Regions from separate parts of the Homo sapiens genome. Here region 1 is linked to region 2. Evidence: promoter capture Hi-C in 16 types of primary human blood cells and fetal thymus (Javierre and others, 2016). All regions are on one chromosome and are shown on one strand. The core of a region is centred on a gene start or on the middle of the fragment in contact, and the rest is flanking DNA. Distances in the headings are between cores, read along the strand shown. Region 1 has its middle 46 kb from the start of LSM14A. Region 2 holds the start of UBA2 (ubiquitin like modifier activating enzyme 2).

Region 1 (2,700 bases), core at 41-2,540, 300 kb before region 2:
CCAGGGAAACAGCCATTTTAAGAACCTGCTACTCAGTACATATACATCTAATGAAAAGGGTTCTTATGAGCATATGTATTATATTTAAGCTATATATTTAATCTTCACCATGAGAAAACACAAATGATAAACATACCTTATCTCAAGTAATTACACCATATTCCCCACTACCTCTGCTCTCGAATGCACAGTTTAGCAGTTATTTGCGCTAAAATTATCCTTCTACACATCAAATCCACTAAAGGAGCTAGTCTCTTTTAAAGAAATGAACCTAATAATCTGTATGAATAAAACCATGTCCCAAATTCTCTATAAAGTATATTAAGAGCAGAACTATGATTTAATGCCAAGTAAATTTTAAATATTACACCTTAAAATGCATCATGTTCACATAAACAATTATATAACAGACTGGAAATTCAGGAGCTAATAATGCAGTTTTCAGCAACAAAATCAAAGTTCATTTCCTCCACAGCACCCCTGTCTCTACAGCCCACTCATATACTATGTATGAACAGCTTCCATATATATGATGTTTCTCAGTGGGTTTTCTCCAACCTGGGCAGCAGAGCAAAACCCTGTCTCAAAAAAAAAAAAAAAAAGAAAAAGGAAAGAAAGAAAAATGGCCAGGCACAGTGGCTCACACCTGTAATCCCAGCACTTTGGGAGGCTAAGGCTGGTGGATCACCTGAGGTCAGAGTTCAAGACCAGCCTGGCCAATATGGCGAAATGCTGTCTCTACTAAAAATACAAAAATTAGCCAGGTGTGGTGGTGTGCTCCTGTAATCCCAGCTACTCAGGAGGCTGAGGCACGAAAATCACTTGAACCCAGGAAGCAGAGGTTGCGGTGAGCCAAGGTTGCACCAGTGCACTCCAGCCTAAGCAACAAAAGCGAAACTCCATCTCAAGAAAAGAAAAAGAAAAAGAAATGTCATTTTCATTGAGCATTGGATCAATTTAGAAGTTGATATTCATAGAATAATAACCACATCACACTATCTTTCTAAAATTCCAACACAGAATAATAAGACCAATTACTGGGTATGCTCAGCCTGTGGGGGCCAAGAGGGCAGATATTCTCTGCATCTATCCCACTTGGAGAGTCCAGAGAAGCAGAGGATGTTTTCCAGGGAGGCTGCTGAGATGTAGGGCCCACCCAGGAAAGTCTGAGGGCTATCCTGGGAAAAGGATAAGGATAAGGATAACTCATTTTTTCAAAAAAGCAAGTGGGAGAGGCATTAGATTTAAAGTATTTGCCAAATACAAAGCAATTTCAAAGCCTTAAAAAATTCTACAAGATATTCATTCAACAAATATTGATAGGCCAGGTGTGGTGGCTCATGCCTGTAATCCCAGCACTTTGGGAGGCCGAGGCGGGCAGATCACCTGAGGTCAGGAGTTTGAGACCAGCCTGACCAACATGGTGAAACTCATCTCTACTAAAAACACAAAAAAATTATCTGGGCATGGTGGTGCACACCTGTAATCCCAGCTACTTGGGAGGCTGAGACAGAATAATCACTTGAATCCGGGAGGCAGAGGTTGCAGTGAGCTGAGATCGAGCCATTGCACTCCAGCCTGGGCAATAAAAATAAAAATACAGCTAATGGTGTTTCTTTCTCGGTGGCGGAATTCAGGGAGGATTATATATTTTCTAAATTTTATCACTGCAGTTTTCTGCATTGTTTGAGCTCTTTAAAATGAACAAAACGGCTTGTTTTCACACATCCAAATGCCGAGCCGCCAACACACCTAGGATGCCCCATGGAAGCTGAAGCCACACTTCCCACATGGCCCCTCTGGCCAGCCGGGCATCTCAGATGACAGCTGCATACAGGCCAGCACCTGCAGCTCAGCCGCCAACAGTGGCATCCACCTCTGCAGTTGGCTCTCCTGCTGCTGCTCCCCAGCAGCCAGGTCTGAGGGCCCAGATGGCAACCACTGCAGCTGACGTGGCTGTGGGCTCTGCTGTGGGGCACACACTGGGCCACGCCGTCACCGGGGGCTTCAGTGGAGGAAGTAATGCTGAGCCTGTAAGGCCTGACATCACTTACCAGTAGCCTCAGGGAATCCAGTCGGCACAGCAGCAGCGGCCTTGCTTCTATGAGACCAGTTTTTGGAGGATGCACAGAACCAGGGTGACAGAAAGCTCTGTGAGGGTTTCAGTGAGGTGCTGAAACAGTGCAGACCTTCAAACAGATTGGCCTAATCAAGAAGGTCAAATTGGAGTAATGAAAAATCAGCTCTCATAACCAAGTTAATTTAGTATAAAAATATAATTGATAGTGAAGGTATAAAGTGTAACCATCAGTTAAACCTCTCCTTGTCATTCATAGCTTCCTTGCTTCAGAATTGAAATGAAAGAAGGTGCTCTTACTGTGCAGAATTTCATTAAGGTCGTGTAGAATTTGGGGCTGGGCAAATGTTTGTGTAGCCTCCTTAAACTAGCTGTGATTTTATTCTCTGTGAGTTAATTAAAATAAAGTGATTTTCTTCCAAAAATAAAAATGAAAATGAAATGAATGAAATGAAAAATGTAATATCATTGTCATCAAACCAACACTGATTTTTCTTTAAAAAAAAAAAAAAAGATTTAAATTAAATATGCAAAAATGTTCACTGCTGGCTGGGTGAGGTGACTCATGCCAGTAATCCCAGCACTTTGGGTGGCCAAAGGGGTGGATCACCTGAGGTCAGGAG
Region 2 (2,700 bases), core at 74-2,573:
TTGGAATGAATGAGTCAAAAGTTGTGCACAATTTTAGGGTTTTTTTTTCTTTTTTTTCGAGACAGGGTCTTGCTCTGTCTCTCAGGCTGGAGTGCAGTGGTAAGGGCATAGCTCACTGCAGCCTCGACCTCTCAGGCTTAAGTGATCCTCCTGCCTCAGCCTCCTGAGTAGCTGGGACTACAGGTGCAAGCCACCACGCCCTCTAGAGAAGCTTTGCTTTGGAATCTTTACCTGGAGTGTGTTGGAGTGCTTGTTTCCCAATCCCTTGATAAGTGTTACTTATTTTTTCTTTCTACCAGTTTAGTAGGTGAAAAACTTTTTTTTTTTTTTGAGACAGAGTCTCGCTGTATTGCTCAGGCTGGAGTGCAGTGGTGCAACCTCCGCCTCCTGGGTTCAAGCAATTCTCCTGCCTCAGCCTCCTGAGTAGCTGGGGCTACAGGCTTGTGCCACCACCCCCAGCTGTTTCGGTGTTTTTTTTTGTTTGTTTGTTTGTTTGTTTTTTTGAGACGGAGTCTGTTGCCCAGGCTGGAGTGCAGTGGCGCGATCTCGGCTCACTGCAACCTCTGCCTCCTGGGTTCAAACGATTCTCCTGCCTCAGCCTCCCGAGTAGCTGGGATTACAGGCGCACGCCACCACGCCCGGCTAATTTTTGTATTTTTAGTAGAGATGGGGGTTTCACCATGTTAGTCAGGCTGGTTTCAGAACTCCTGACCTCGTGATCCACCCGCCTCGGCCTCCCAAAGTGCTGGGATTACAGGCGTAAGCCACCGCGCCCGGCAGGTGAAAATCTTACCATTTTGCATGGTTTACATTTTTTTCTTTTTTGAGACGGAGTCTTGCTCTGTTACCCAGCCTGGAGTGAAGTGGTGCGATCTTGGTTCACTGCAACCTCCACCTCCAGGGTTCAAGCGATTCTTTTATGGTTTACATTTTAATACGCTTATTGATCATATTGTCCAATTTTTTGTGAGTTTCCTGTTCACATCCTTTGCCTATATTTTTTTGGGGGTGACACTTGTTAATTTGTAAGAGCTCTTTACGTATAGGGACATCAGTTTTCTAACCTGTAAGGAAGTCTTGGCTGGGAGTTGAAACCCCAGGCTAGAAGGCGACCCTTAGACTTTTTAGGTCTGATGGCGGGCCTATGCTGGTGTGGGAATAACACCGCCGGTCTCAGCTGGAGGTCGCCAGCCCTTTGCAAGAGCCTGCCGGTCCCCGCGGGCTGCAGCACACCCCGGCGCGATGTGCCCTGCCTGTGTCTGCCGGAGGCTGTAGTGCGCAGGAGCGGAAACCAGGCCGCCCTTCCCCCACCCGCTTCCGGCCGCGGCTCGGTTCTCCCGCCTCCGCCTCCGCCGCGGCTCGTGGTTGTCCCGCCATGGCACTGTCGCGGGGGCTGCCCCGGGAGCTGGCTGAGGCGGTGGCCGGGGGCCGGGTGCTGGTGGTGGGGGCGGGCGGCATCGGCTGCGAGCTCCTCAAGAATCTCGTGCTCACCGGTTTCTCCCACATCGACCTGGTGAGGGCCGGGCGCGCGCGCGTGAATGGCGGGCTGTGGTGCGGGGGCTGGGATTCGGGGGTTCCGGGGCTCCAGGGGCTCTGAGGCTCAGGGCCCGGAGCCCGGGACCGGAGTTGCGGAGCGGGGGCAGGCTGAGAGGCTCGGGTTGTGCCCCCCCCGCGGGAGGAGACTGTTCTTTGGGCACGGGGCGGGCCTCCGCTCGCTGGGCCGGCTCCGGACGCCGAGGAGGCCGCGGGCCCCCGCCTCCCCGGCAGCGCCAATGTGTGGCGCTTCGTGGGCGTGAAGCCGCCTCTTATCCTCCCTTCAAAACAAATTCCCGGCTGTTAGGAGATGCGGGAGAGGATTGAGTCCCTCGCGGATGTTGTGACTTTAATTTTGAGGTCCCTGTCGTAACTCCGAAGTAACGACGCGGGGCGGAGGATGGCAATGATAGCGACCAACGCGTCCCGAGCGCTGGTCACGAGCGGGTTTACACACGGAACGCGCACCATCTTCATACCACCCGAGGAGTGCAAACGCTATTTCCACCCTGCTTTATTTTTAACAGATGAGGAAAGGGAGACGCAATGGGGTTGAGTAACTTACCCTGGGTCACGGAGCGAGTGGCAGGGCTCCCGCAGGCTGCGTGACTGTCATTGCTCTCACAGTAGACGGTACACTCGCTTGTTTCATTAAAGACGTTAGGACTGTGCCTTTTGCATTGGTGTACGTTGACAAGCCAGTGCTATTTTGAATCGTTATTTCTACTAATGCAAACTTTTTAGAGATTGGAGATGTTACTGGCCCTTCGGTGTGAGTTTAAAGTGTCTTAAGGGCTAGTGGAAACATGGAATGAACAAAAAAGTACGGGTGGCCGACTGAGTCATTGTTTCTTTCCTTTATGTATTATATATTTAAGCAAAAATTAGATAAAACTTAAAACATGATACTTTTTTAACCATGTGTAAAAGTTTCCTTTCACAGTTCTCAGGTTAATAGTAAATGAAATTGTGTATGGATGAAGGCTTGAATTAAGGGAGGCAGCAAAAATTCAATAAACGTTTGCCATGTATCATTTAAGAAAAAGAACAGAACCTGGGCAACATAGAGAAACCCCGTCTCTACAAAAAAAGAAAATTAGCGGGGCGTGGTGGTGTGCGCCTGTGGTCCCAGCTACCCGGGAGGCTGTGTCAGGAGGATCGCTTGAG

Evidence for each region. Contacts are between HindIII fragments. The CHiCAGO score rates a contact against its expected background, and 5 or more counts as called.
Region 1: a fragment that was not itself captured here is called in contact with the fragment with the promoter of UBA2 in region 2 in 1 of 17 cell types (fetal thymus); the score reaches 5.3 in fetal thymus.

Annotation. Positions count from the first base shown.
Region 1 is chr19:34,125,215-34,127,914 of GRCh38, forward strand. It overlaps the pseudogene CHCHD2P3. Among named protein-coding and RNA genes, the nearest start is that of LSM14A, 46 kb to the right of the region's middle. RefSeq lists an enhancer at 1,432-1,941. The HindIII fragment of the contact is 8,804 bases long and covers 1-2,700 here.
Region 2 is chr19:34,427,058-34,429,757 of GRCh38, forward strand. It overlaps UBA2 (ubiquitin like modifier activating enzyme 2), which reads left to right and starts at 1,324. Exons shown (of 17, transcript NM_005499.3): 1 at 1,324-1,513. The coding sequence starts at 1,376. It overlaps LOC124904695 (a long non-coding RNA gene), which reads right to left and starts at 1,307. Exons shown (of 2, transcript XR_007067232.1): 1 at 1,065-1,307. RefSeq lists silencers at 1,212-1,451, 1,482-1,591, 1,662-1,821. The HindIII fragment of the contact is 4,339 bases long and covers 210-2,700 here.